Regions from separate parts of the Homo sapiens genome. Here regions 2 and 3 are each linked to region 1. Evidence: promoter capture Hi-C in human tissues and cell types (Jung and others, 2019). All regions are on one chromosome and are shown on one strand. Each heading gives the region's core, a stretch centred on a gene start or on the middle of the fragment in contact. The rest is flanking DNA. Distances are from core to core; before and after follow the strand shown.

What was found. The method cuts DNA at HindIII sites, captures the fragments that hold promoters and counts their contacts. A contact is called where the count stands out against the background at its distance.
Region 2: a fragment that was not itself captured here is called in contact with the fragment with the promoter of APOBEC2 in region 1 in 1 of the 25 tissues and cell types used here (dorsolateral prefrontal cortex).
Region 3: a fragment that was not itself captured here is called in contact with the fragment with the promoter of APOBEC2 in region 1 in 1 of the 25 tissues and cell types used here (dorsolateral prefrontal cortex).

What each region holds. Positions count from the first base shown.
Region 1 is chr6:41,051,588-41,055,425 of GRCh38, reverse strand. It overlaps APOBEC2 (apolipoprotein B mRNA editing enzyme catalytic subunit 2), which reads right to left and starts at 2,224. Exons shown (of 3, transcript NM_006789.4): 1 at 1,948-2,224. The coding sequence starts at 2,078. The HindIII fragment of the contact is 7,265 bases long and covers 1,286-3,838 here.
Region 2 is chr6:39,387,226-39,391,063 of GRCh38, reverse strand. All of the region lies in intron 15 of KIF6 (kinesin family member 6), which reads left to right. It overlaps LOC107986594 (a long non-coding RNA gene), which reads right to left. Exons shown (of 4, transcript XR_001744111.2): 4 at 1,624-2,755. Among named protein-coding and RNA genes, the nearest start is that of KCNK16, 66 kb to the right of the region's middle. The HindIII fragment of the contact is 5,758 bases long and covers 1-3,838 here.
Region 3 is chr6:39,905,906-39,909,743 of GRCh38, reverse strand. MOCS1 (molybdenum cofactor synthesis 1) reads left to right here. Exons shown (of 11, transcript NM_001358530.2): 10 at 642-689; 11 at 2,627-3,838. The coding sequence ends at 3,387. Among named protein-coding and RNA genes, the nearest start is that of DAAM2-AS1, 10 kb to the right of the region's middle. The HindIII fragment of the contact is 4,248 bases long and covers 1-3,434 here.

The DNA.
Region 1 (3,838 bases), core at 975-3,474:
AGCCATCTGTTTACCCAGAGGGGCCCAGGAGACAGCTCTCTACAGCTGTTACTTGTGGCCAGGAAACACTCAGCGCTCTGCTCCCACCTGAACTGTTCACAGAATGCTCAGAACGTTGCCCCTTCTGTGCCCCTTTTTCTGAGCCTTGGGTCCTCACTACCTCCCAGATAGAGATAACGTGGAGCTCTGGGAAACCTGGGATCCAGAATGAATAAGAAACCAGTAGAAAGGATACTTTGCTGGGAGTAAGAAGATGTGCCACCTACCAGTTCTGTGGTTTTGGACATACCATTCAATCTCTCTGAGTCTCAGTTTCCCCCTCTGTAAAGTGGCAATAATATATCTCCCTCTCCTACCTTTGTGCTGAGTGTTGAATGGTCTCATGTTCATGAAACTATGTTGTGATTATAAAGCCCTGGACAAATGTAAGTTATATCAGTGGACTTAACCCTTCAGGATCCATTGCTCTGGGACCCCCAAAGCATGTTCAGCTGAACAAACATAGTCTAATTCTGTTCTTGACCTACCCTCCCTCTGTGTTGGAAAGCCACACAAGAGTGTAGTGTGCACACGCGTGTGTGTATGACTAAGGATAGCGTATACCAGCATGCTTAGGTGTTAGAAAAAGGCTCTCCTTCCATAAGAAAGCCACTGGAATTGAGGACTCTCCTGGCCAGGCTGCCTTAGGCTTTCCCTGTGTCTATATTAATCTGTGCCCAGCTGCTCCCTTAATCCTAGGATGAGGGTGAGATTAGTTGGGTGGGCATGGGCAAATGGAAATTCAGGGGCTACTCTTGCCTCAGGAAATAGGATGCATTTTCCCTTAGGTTCTCTTGAAAATCAGAAAACATCTGAGCTGGAAGGGACCTTACTACTATAGATCTTCATGTTATAAGTGCTAAAACTGTGGCTGACTGGAAAATCACTTGTCAAGCTTGAAATATCAAGTCCAAATTGCCACTCAGGGCTTCCTTTCCCCCTTGAAAGCATCATGCCTCCTTTCTTCCTGAAACTTCTCTTAGTCTCGCACCCACTCTGCCTGTGGTCATTCCTGGAGACCCCATGAAGGGAACGTTTGGTTCAAGGAGGAAATATGGCCTCATAGATTCTCTTTTTATTCTTTGCTCAGGATTTAGAAGGGTCTTCCACTACAGGAATAGAAAGGGAAGAGGAAGAAGACTACTTAGTTTTATTCCTGGAGATGGCATAATCTGGATAAGACAGAGGTACCCTGCACACAGCCCCCTCCTTGCAGTCTGTAGACCCTTTTCTTTGGGTCCCAGTTCCTCCAGGCAATGCCTGAGCATGTTGGAACAGCTCCTGTGTCCATAAGCTCCTGGGCTGCGTTATCTGCATGTAATTTCTCTGTTTCTCTGTGGGACAGCCCCTGAGGAGACTCAAAAGATTTAATAAGAAAAAAGCTGCTTCTGAGTCTTGGGAAAGGATGGATCTATCTTTCCTGTCTTGGGAGCATCTACTCCAGGAAGAAGCTCTAAAGAAAGGGCTAGAGGCCTATGGCTAGCGGAGAGACCCACTCAGGAACAGAGAAGTTGAGGGGAAGGGTTGCTTTGAACGGAGCCACATATAGATGTGCCAGTCTCATCCTCTGTCCTCGCCAAACTCCCTGGGACTAAGCTTCTACCCAGAGAGGCAGGTGGCCATCCCAATACCAGGAGGCCTGAAGGGTGGTTTTATTCTCTGGGCTTTTGCCTCCAAGGAGCTCCTCCTACCTCTCCCTGATTAGAGAGCCCAAGGTGTCACCCTGAGAAGCCAAGAGAATTTGCTGCTGGGTCCCCTACCACCCCTGCCGGGCCCACTGGTGCACTCTCACTGCTGCAGGGTTGTAGCTGTCCCTGACGCCTAATATAACCATCCTGAATTTCCACAGCCTAACCCAAGGCTGCACTCTTCTAGGGAGCAGAACCCTGACCCACATCTGAGGCTTACCCTGTGACAATCTCAAAGGGCGGCAGCTCAATCAGCTCTTTCAGCTTCTCAGGGTCGTCCAGGTTCTCCAGATCCTCCCCATTCTGGGAGGCAGCCTCAGTGGCCACAGCAGCCTCTTCCTTCTGGGCCATGGAGGGGCTGTGGCTCAGGAGTCACTGAGGGAGAGGAGAGAGGCAGGCAGGTCTGGGCCAGGCCCTGGCGGCAGAGTCCCAAGCAGCTGTCAGCAGCTAAATCTGGCTGGGGATGACGGGAAAAGGACCCAGCAGGCCAGGCTTCGTGCTTTCCCCACTTAGCCACAGGCTTTATAGCCAAGGCCTCCTGCCCCTCCCCCAGGCTCTCTCCCTCTATCTTTTTTTAATTGAGTGACAGCGGGTGCTGGGGTGGGGGAATGGAAAATCTGGCCATTAGTATCCCCTATTTATCAGTAGGCAAAGACAGGAACCTGGCAGGTGGGTATGGCTTGGCCTGCTCTCTTCTCCCTCTCCCTCTCAGCTCACCTTATGTTCTCCCCTTTGTTTCCCACCCAAATTCCCTAGCTCCACTGGGGGAGAGTGTGGAAGGGGCCCCAGGGCAGGCATCCTGAGATTTAGGAGGGTGGCCTTCTGAGATTTAAACAGGAGGAGATGTGTGTTGAAAGGGGCTGACTGCAAAAAGACCCAGGCCATTTGCTTTGGGGGAACGTGGGTTCAGGAAAGGAGGGGTCCTGGCAGAGGTGGGATCAAAACTGACAATTTGGGGAGTAAGTGTGTGAGTTATGACTCAAAAGCGGTGGGTGCTGATTTGCCTGTTACAAAGCCATAATGTAATGTCAAATCGATCAGGAGCCTCCCTGAGTAACAATAGCTGCCATTTACTTAGCTCAGAGATTTTGAAACAGGCCAGGCAGTGGGTTTAGGGGTTTAAATGAAATCAGATGCATGCTTGCCACAGCCATGGGAGGCGATGTGTATTATCCCAAGTTACAGGTAAACTGAGTCACAGAAGTGTGCAGAGCCGGGATTAAAATGCAGGCTTTTGTACTTCAGGCCAAATATTCAACCTCCATGCTATGTGCCCTCACAGTCAGTCTTTTATTCTTCTTAACAAATATTTATTGAGTATCTACTCTATGCCAGGTGCTGTTTCAGGTACTGGGAATATGGCAAAAGAACAAAGCAAATGAAAATCCCTGCTGTGATGATTTGTGGAGCTTGAGGAACTGAACAACAAATAAGGTAAGTAAAATACATGGTCTATTTTGTGATGACAAGTGCCAAGGAGAAAAGACAGGAAATGGAAACAGGAAGTGCTAAGAGGTGGGGTTACGTACTTATAGGATGGCCAGGGTGAAGGACTTTGAAAAGGAGACAATTGAAGAAGACGTGAAGAAGGCAAGGGAACTAATCATTTGGTTGTCTAAGAGGAAAGCGTTCCAAGGAAGGGAACAACGTGAGCAAAGGCTCTGAGAAGGGAGCATTCCTGGGGTGTTTGAGGAACTAGCGAGGACATACATCTGGGTGACTGAAGAGTTCTAAGAGATTAAGCCAGAGAGATAACAAGGGTAAAAGGGACTGGGGCCTTATGGGCTGTCATAAGTACCTTGCTTTTTCTCAGACTGAGGTGGGAAGCCATTGTCTCTGAACAGGTGAGACAGGTGGTCTGAGCACTTGGGAAGAGCAGAGGCAGGGGACCAGTGAGAAGCCTACTGAGGCCAGAGAGAGATGATGGGGGCCCATAGAAAAGACCCTGAGCCGGAACAGCAGCAGAGGATGGCTAGATGATTTTTGCAGCTCTCATGATGGGTACTTAGCAGAGGCAAAAGTCTTCGTGTTTGGAGCAGTGCAAACACTCTAGGCCATTCTCAGGGAAGCAGAAGGAAGGGGTCAGGGTCACTTGTAGGTTGAAAATGAGG
Region 2 (3,838 bases), core at 441-2,940, 1.7 Mb after region 1:
ACCAACAAGTTTGGATAAAGCCTGATGAAATATATATTAGCAAGGGGGACATGAATATGTCTGATTTTAAGGTTTCAAAGAATTTACATCCTCCTGTTAGTTGGGAATCCGTGTAAGGATTACACAATTTATTCTAGGCCCATTATTTTTACAACTAGCCTTACACACAGCCTTTAGGGATCTAACCTTTTGGTTATCATGATCCTCCATGTTAGTACCAAAAAAACTGCTTCTCACATGACAGCTGAAATTGTCACTCAGAGTTCGGAGCCTCTAACTAGACCTTCCATTTCAAAGAGGCCCCTCAGGCAGGAAACATATTCTGCATATTCTCCCCACACCCCAGTTCTACAACTGATGTTTATATTAACCAGATTTTGCCCAGAAACTCTAGTAGTATAGTCAAACAGACAAATAGCATTTATCTGGGTCCAGAGCTCTTAGTAATTACCCAGGACCCCAGACTCCAGTATGAATACAACTTAGTCTTCCCCAGCCCTAGTCCTCCACTCAACCTTCCCTTGCCGCCCCTGTCCCAAACCAGTATATACTTGGCCTCTGCATTATTGTCCCAGCAGTTCTCTCAGACTGAGGTGCCCTTCCCAAGCGCACCTTAACACCCTTGCTCTTTTCTGAGCCTACTCAATTCGCCTGTAGTAATTATGCCTTTCCCAATGTCTCCTTTCCCTCCTCTAAATGTATCTCTACCATTGATTTGACATTTAGCCGCTTGACCTGTCATCTTAACCATGTAGTATCCTTCCAATATGTCTGAAAGTGCCTGAATACCTAAAACGAGTGTGGCATATCATACATGCTGGTGCGTTATCCCTTGCTCCTCTGAAAGATCTTGAGATATAGCAAAGCAGATATTATTGCAGTTATAATATTTTTCCATTTTTCAAATGATAACATTGAGGTTAGAGACGTTGGTTAGCCCATTCAACTAAGAAGTAGCAAAACTGGGATTTGAACTCAACTTCGTCTACCTCCAGATTTGTAATTATTTCCTTTTTTTTTTTTTTTTTTTTTGGAGACAGAGTCTCATTCTGTTGCCCAGGCTGGAGTGCAGCGGCGCGATCTTGGCTCATTGCAACCTCTGCCTCCCAGGTTCAAGTGATTCTCCTGCCTCAGTGTCCCAAGTAGCTGGGATTACAGGTGCCCGTCACCATGCCCAGCTAATTTTTGTATTTTTAGTAGAGATGGAGTTTTGCCATGTTGGCCAGACTAGTCTTAAACTCCTGACCTCAGGTGATCCACCCACCTTGGCCTCCCAAAGTGCTGGGATTACAGGCATGAACCACCATGCCTGGCCCAGATTTGTAATTATTTTCTAGAATAACTGAAATAGCAAAGAGGTTTGCTTCATCTCAAGTCCAACTTCAAGTGATGGGCTATAGCTGCCCAGAGTGCTGTGTGGAAGAGCCAAACTCAGGCTCAGCAGGAAAGCAAACCATCCCTGATGGAGGAGCAAGGCCAGCCGTTGGTCCAGCACTTAAAAGAAAGAGCACACGGGCCACCTATTTGCTGATCCCTGTACTGCACTGACTTTCCTAGGTTAGGATAGAGCCTTCTACGAGTGTGTATATTCCACAGCACTTAGAACATAGTGCTTAACCGATAGTAGATGAGAGATAAGTATTTATTGTTTGATAGCAACATAAACATGTTGAATGAGGCACAGCATCCCAGAAATTGCAGGAGCAGCAGACAGCCACTCAGGGAGTCGTAAGTGAATAGCTCTCCTCCAGGCCAGCCAAGCAGCGTTCACGTGAATAATCTCAAACTAGCATGCGTGCAAAATAGAGTGTGAAGCTTATGGAAAATGGTTTTATTCAGAAGACTGAATACTGATGTAAAAAAATCAGTTTCACTTCTGCATGATGATAATACTTTCCCTAGAACTACTCAGTAACAGAGAAAACCCATATACCACACAGAGCACCACCTCCACATACCCTGCTCGCGGTCATATTTAAGGTCACCCGTCTCCTCTGGAGCTTTCCCGTGGATTGCTGTAAGCTCTGCTCCCCGCTGCCACCCACAATCCATCAATTAATGTATCAAAAGGGAGAGAAGGTGTTTCTAGCATGTACTGTGGTAAATTACTGAAGGAAAAATTACTAATTATGGACACTCCTGCAGGCAGAGCATTCCTTCCCTCCCCTACCCTTTTGGTTTTCAGCCCCATTCTGGGCTCCCTACTTCCCTCCCAGACTGTCTCCGGCCTCAGGCTGGGAGTTCTCTGTTTCCATTTCATCTCTTTTCCATACCTCTGGATGGGGATGTGTCCAGGAACCCAGGCCAAAACCAGCAAATTTATCACCGTGGTAATGACAGCAAGCTGCATGCTGAGTGAATTCTGCAATCCCCCTCAACTCCTTTTTTTGCCAAAACCCATAAAGCTGCAAGATCCAGCAGGTTACAGAGACTGTTATCTGCACATGAAGAATAGCTCTGTTAGAAATGCAATTAGGTATCAGCCATAAGGCTATTTTTGGAAGCTTGTTTGGGGGAAATAAAAAAAAACTTGCCATGTGGTGGGAGATGTTAGTCAATTCACCAAAACTGAGTATCACTAGCGGCATTGTAAAACAACCTTTATCAATATGTAACATTATAAAGACCCACCTTTTGTTCCCTGGTGGTGCCTCGTTGTTCTGAGAGTGAGTATTTATGCTTGTGGTGGCAAAATCCCCTCTTTATTTACGTGAGCAGCTCCTCCCAAACCAGGGGCAGTGGAGAATCCTTAAACCTGGTCATTCCAAAAAAAAAAAAATACTTCCTTAGGGTTTGGGAAAAAGGAACTTGGTCGTTCCAATAGGCGCTGAAGAAATTGTAACATACCAGGTTGAGCACACCTACTCTGGTCAAGGCATGGGGTTTGGAGGCACAGACTTGAGGAAGCATGTGTCAGGAGGCGCATTGTCAGGGAGGCTTATTACTGGGAAGGCTTATTAGCAGGGAGGTAGTTTCCAGGAAGCAGTGCAAACCAGTGTGTGCTCTAAAGGAGCAAGCCACTGTCCAGGCTCATTAGGAAGGCAGTACCCAGTCATATGAGAGGCTCGTGGTATAAGGCTGTGCCGGATACCCAGGAAACAGGCAGGGCACCAAAGCACCACTGACTCTCCATACTGCAGGATTAAAAAGCTTTTGATGACTCACTCTAAATCAAGAGATGTTTCTAAATGGTGTGTTGCATTTGTCACAGCAATATCTCCTTTTATTTGGAGCATGCATGTGCTATCCCATCTTAAAATTTAATTCAGCAGTGTTTGATGCAGCCTAGAGTCTCAGTCCAGCAGCAGCCTTATGTCCCCAACTTCTTTACTCTGCTTATATGGACAATAAGGGTCAAATTGCACTGAGTAGGGAAAAGATCCATTTGGGGCTGTGGCTGGCTCAGGTGTCAAGTCATTTTCCTGTTGGATCCAGGTTCACCAATACTCATCATTGGGTCAAGTTTCCACTTCCCCAAATCCCCCTCAGCACACTCCTGAAGTTCCCACCCTTCCCCCACATGGAATAAGGGTGCAATTATTGTTTAGTCCCAATGCCTGCCACGCTCTCTATGCATAATTCTCTCCAGTAGGGACACATGGAAACCAAGGCACAGACATGCAGGTGCCCCAGACCCTTTCCCAAGACAATGATGTGTCTGGAGATAGTGGCCTCCGAGGTATTACCTAAGGACTGGTGATGTTTGACCTCCATAAAGGGCAAGTCGAAGTAGAGAAATCAATCATAGCATCCTCAGATATGTGAAGATCCTATGCCAATGACAGAGGATCTTTTTCTGTGCTGATCCAGAAAACAGGCCAGGCACATAGCTGAAGAT
Region 3 (3,838 bases), core at 61-2,560, 1.1 Mb after region 1:
AACACCTAGGGGGAAGCTGGCGAGAGTCAGCATCATCCCCACTACCACTCACTGCTGTTGGCCCTCTGGACTCAGGGTACAGTGATGCTTCTCCTTCCATGGGGAAAAGTCATAGCAGAGGCTGCACAGGAGAGGGGACCCCAGATTCTCTTGGGCTGTTTTACTAGGTGGGGAGAAGGGGGTGTCATTGCTTCTTTCTCATCCCACACGTGGCCTTCTGTTTAGGGAGGGCAGGGTCCTGATGTCCACAGACTGTTCTTTGGGCTCAGCCTTGAGCGACCTCGCAGTGCACATGTGGGGGCCTTTTGTCATACAGCTGAGTGCATGTGCTCGGGGCTGTCAAGCGCGTTTGTTTCAGTGAACTCTCCTCTCCCCGCCCTGTCCCTCTCCCGCTCCCCTGCTTTCCTCTCCCTCTCCCCTTCCCCTGCTTTCCTCTCCCTCTCCCCCTCCCCCTCCCCTGCTTTCCTCTCCCTCTCCCCCTCCCCCTCCCCTGCTTTCCTCTCCCTCTCCCCTCCCCCTCCCCTGCTTTCCTCTCCCTCTCCCCTTCCCCTGCTTTCCTCTCCCTCTCCCCCTCCCCTGCTTTCCTCTCCCTCTCCCCCTCCCCTGCTTTCCTCTCCCTCCCCATCTTTCCCTCACCCCAGGCATGTTCAGTATTTCCCAGATGAAGAACCGGCCCATGATCCTCATCGGTGGGTGACCCATCAGTACGTAACCACTCACCCTTGTCATTTGGGGATCTCGTGGGGTGGGAGCCGTGCCATAGGCACCCCCAGCTCCTGCATTTCATGCTGATTTCTCATCCTTGTTTTTCTTCTATTCCTCCTTCATCTCTTCTTAACCTTCAAGGTTTTACTGTTTCTTCCCCCACTGTTCATGATCCCCCTTACTATACCTGCCACAGAAATGATCCTTCTGTCTCACCAGACATCAGAGCAGGGGGATGGTCTGCCAGATTTAATGATCACTAAGTTAGTGGCTCCCTGAGAATTGAAATCCTGGTTAAAACAGAGGCCTTTTCCTCGGCTCTAAAATCTCCCATTTGGATAATGTGACAGGTGTCCTCTGTAGTACCCAATGATCCATGCACGGTGTATCTGGACCATGAGCCCCCACGGGTGGATGTGTGGCCAGACGTCTGTGCTGGGCAGATCTTGAGGCAGCAAGTTAATAATGTTACTCACATGTAACATGAGGTAATGATGGCCAAGACCTCAACTTCCCAATTCCTTAACTCTCAGGAACATCTGCATAGGATGTATCATCGTGTGTGTAGGATGCTTCAAACAAAAGCCCCCTGGTTTTAAGTCCTTATGTGGTCTCCTACCCCTGGGGGCTGGGCTGGTCACTGAGGAGCTGTAGGGTGGCTGTTGCCCCTCTGTCACGGTGCCCAGATTATAGCAGGTGAGGCCTTGACCCTTTGCTCGCAGTCAGTTCTGAGCCCCCTGAACTGTGCCACTAGGAAAGAAAAAGCAGGGGGGAGAAAAGATGAGAGGAAAGATCCTTTCTTTAGAGGTTAGAGCAGAGGGAACTCAGTGGCCCAGAGGGGAAGGCAGGCTAGAGACAGCCCAAGGACCATCTTTGCCCACTGGCTGCCCGGGAAAGCAAAGGTAGCTTGCCACTGGGAAGAAGACTCTCATCTCCTCTCCTCCCACCCCCAGCATCCAAGTCCTCTTGTTGGGCCCTGACCCATGCTGAGGCACCTTCATGGCCTTGATGGCATCTCCCCAGAAGGGAGGCTGCCCCTCTGACATTGACATGTCTGGGGCTTAGAGTATGATGCGAAGTGGGAAGCTGGGGGAGCATTTGCCTCATACTTTCAGAGATATTGAGTAACCAGTCTGCTTTCTATACAACCAAGAGTTGCCTAGGACAGGGCCTCTCAGAATTTCATGTGCATGTGAATCACTGGGGATTTTGTCCTTTTGGATTGACTTGGAAGGTCTGGGGTGGGATTCTGCATCTCTTGTGAGTTCTCAGGTGGTGCTGGTGCTGCTGGTGCTGCTGGTCCATAAGCCAACCACCCTTTGAGTAACAAGAGCCTGCACCATTCCCTAGGCCCTCTGCACCATCTGAATTAGCCCGTCAGTTTGTATGTGCTTCTCATGTGCTTCAGGGGACTTGAAAAACATTTAAGTAGATCACAAATTCCCCTTATTATCTTGTCTGTAAACTAAGTGGTTATATTAACTCTTCATGGAGAATGTGAAGATAAAAATAGGTGTAATTGGTAATTTAGAGTGAGACCTAGCTCTAGTTTTAAGAAAATGAAGGGACATTCAGAGGTCATGTGATCCAGGCCTCAACTTGGTGCTGCTTGAGAGAACTTGGGAATTGAGAAGGTTTTCATGTGGAGGGAACCCTGTGCCACGGTGGCACAGCAGTTTCTAGGAGGGCTGTTACCCTGTACATCACTGGGTGAGAAGGGCTGTGAACTTGGACTCTGGGTGCCATCTATCTGTGGATCTTCTACTTTGTCTTGTCCCACTATGCTTTTTGTTCTTCATTCCTCTTTCCCCGGTATGAAAGAGAACTTGAGGTGGGATAGGGAGAGGGTTGGGGAGTAGAGGTGGGAAAAAGAATTGCCTTTTGGACTTAGTGTTTCTTCTCTTTTCTTCTTGCCTTGCAGAGTTATTTTTGATGTTCCCCAATTCCCCACCAGCCAATCCAAGCATTTTCTCCTGGGACCCGCTCCATGTTCAGGGTCTAAGACCCAGAATGAGTTTCTCCAGCCAGGTGGCCACTTTATGGAAAGGATGCAGGGTCCCCCAGACCCCTCCTCTAGCCCAGCAGCGGCTGGGGTCTGGCTCCTTTCAGAGACACTACACTTCCCGTGCAGACTCAGATGCCAACTCAAAGTGCCTTAGCCCAGGTTCCTGGGCTTCTGCTGCCCCCTCAGGACCCCAGCTAACCTCAGAACAACTAACTCATGTGGACTCGGAAGGACGGGCAGCTATGGTAGATGTGGGCAGGAAGCCAGACACAGAGCGGGTGGCTGTGGCTTCAGCCGTGGTCCTCCTGGGACCGGTAGCCTTCAAGCTTGTCCAGCAGAACCAGCTCAAGAAAGGAGATGCCCTAGTGGTGGCCCAGCTGGCTGGAGTCCAGGCAGCCAAGGTGACCAGCCAGCTGATCCCTCTGTGCCACCACGTGGCCCTGAGCCACATCCAGGTGCAGCTGGAGCTGGACAGCACACGCCATGCCGTGAAGATCCAGGCATCTTGCCGGGCTCGGGGCCCCACCGGGGTGGAGATGGAGGCCCTGACCTCTGCTGCAGTGGCCGCCCTCACCCTGTATGACATGTGCAAGGCTGTCAGCAGGGACATCGTGTTGGAGGAGATCAAGCTCATTAGCAAGACTGGTGGTCAGCGGGGGGACTTCCATCGGGCTTAGCACCTGCCCTTCTCACCCATGGCCCACCCAGGCCTGGAGCTGGGATGCAATGTAGGCTGAGGGAAAGACGTCAGGTTCCTTTAATCACAGTCACTGTTTGTTTACCTTGAGCAGTAAACCCGAAGTCAGCCTGCTCTACTACTAACAAACAGGCCTGCTGCTAGATGATCTCTAATGACCAATGGGGCTTCCTTTCTATAGGGAGGATACCAGCAGGCCCTTAAGCCTTCCAGGACACTAAGGTCGTGGGAGCGGGACTGCAACAAGCAATGCCAGATAACTGAGAAATCATGTTCTTTGTGGACTATTTCAGACAACCAGGTTCCGACAGTCCAGCCCAGAACTTTTCCTTCTCATTTTGGGTTTTCTCTTCTCCTGCTTTCCTGGGGAGAGATTAAGCGCTCATTAAGCAGAGGAGCCCACTTTGAGGAGAGCAAAGCACAAGCTTGCC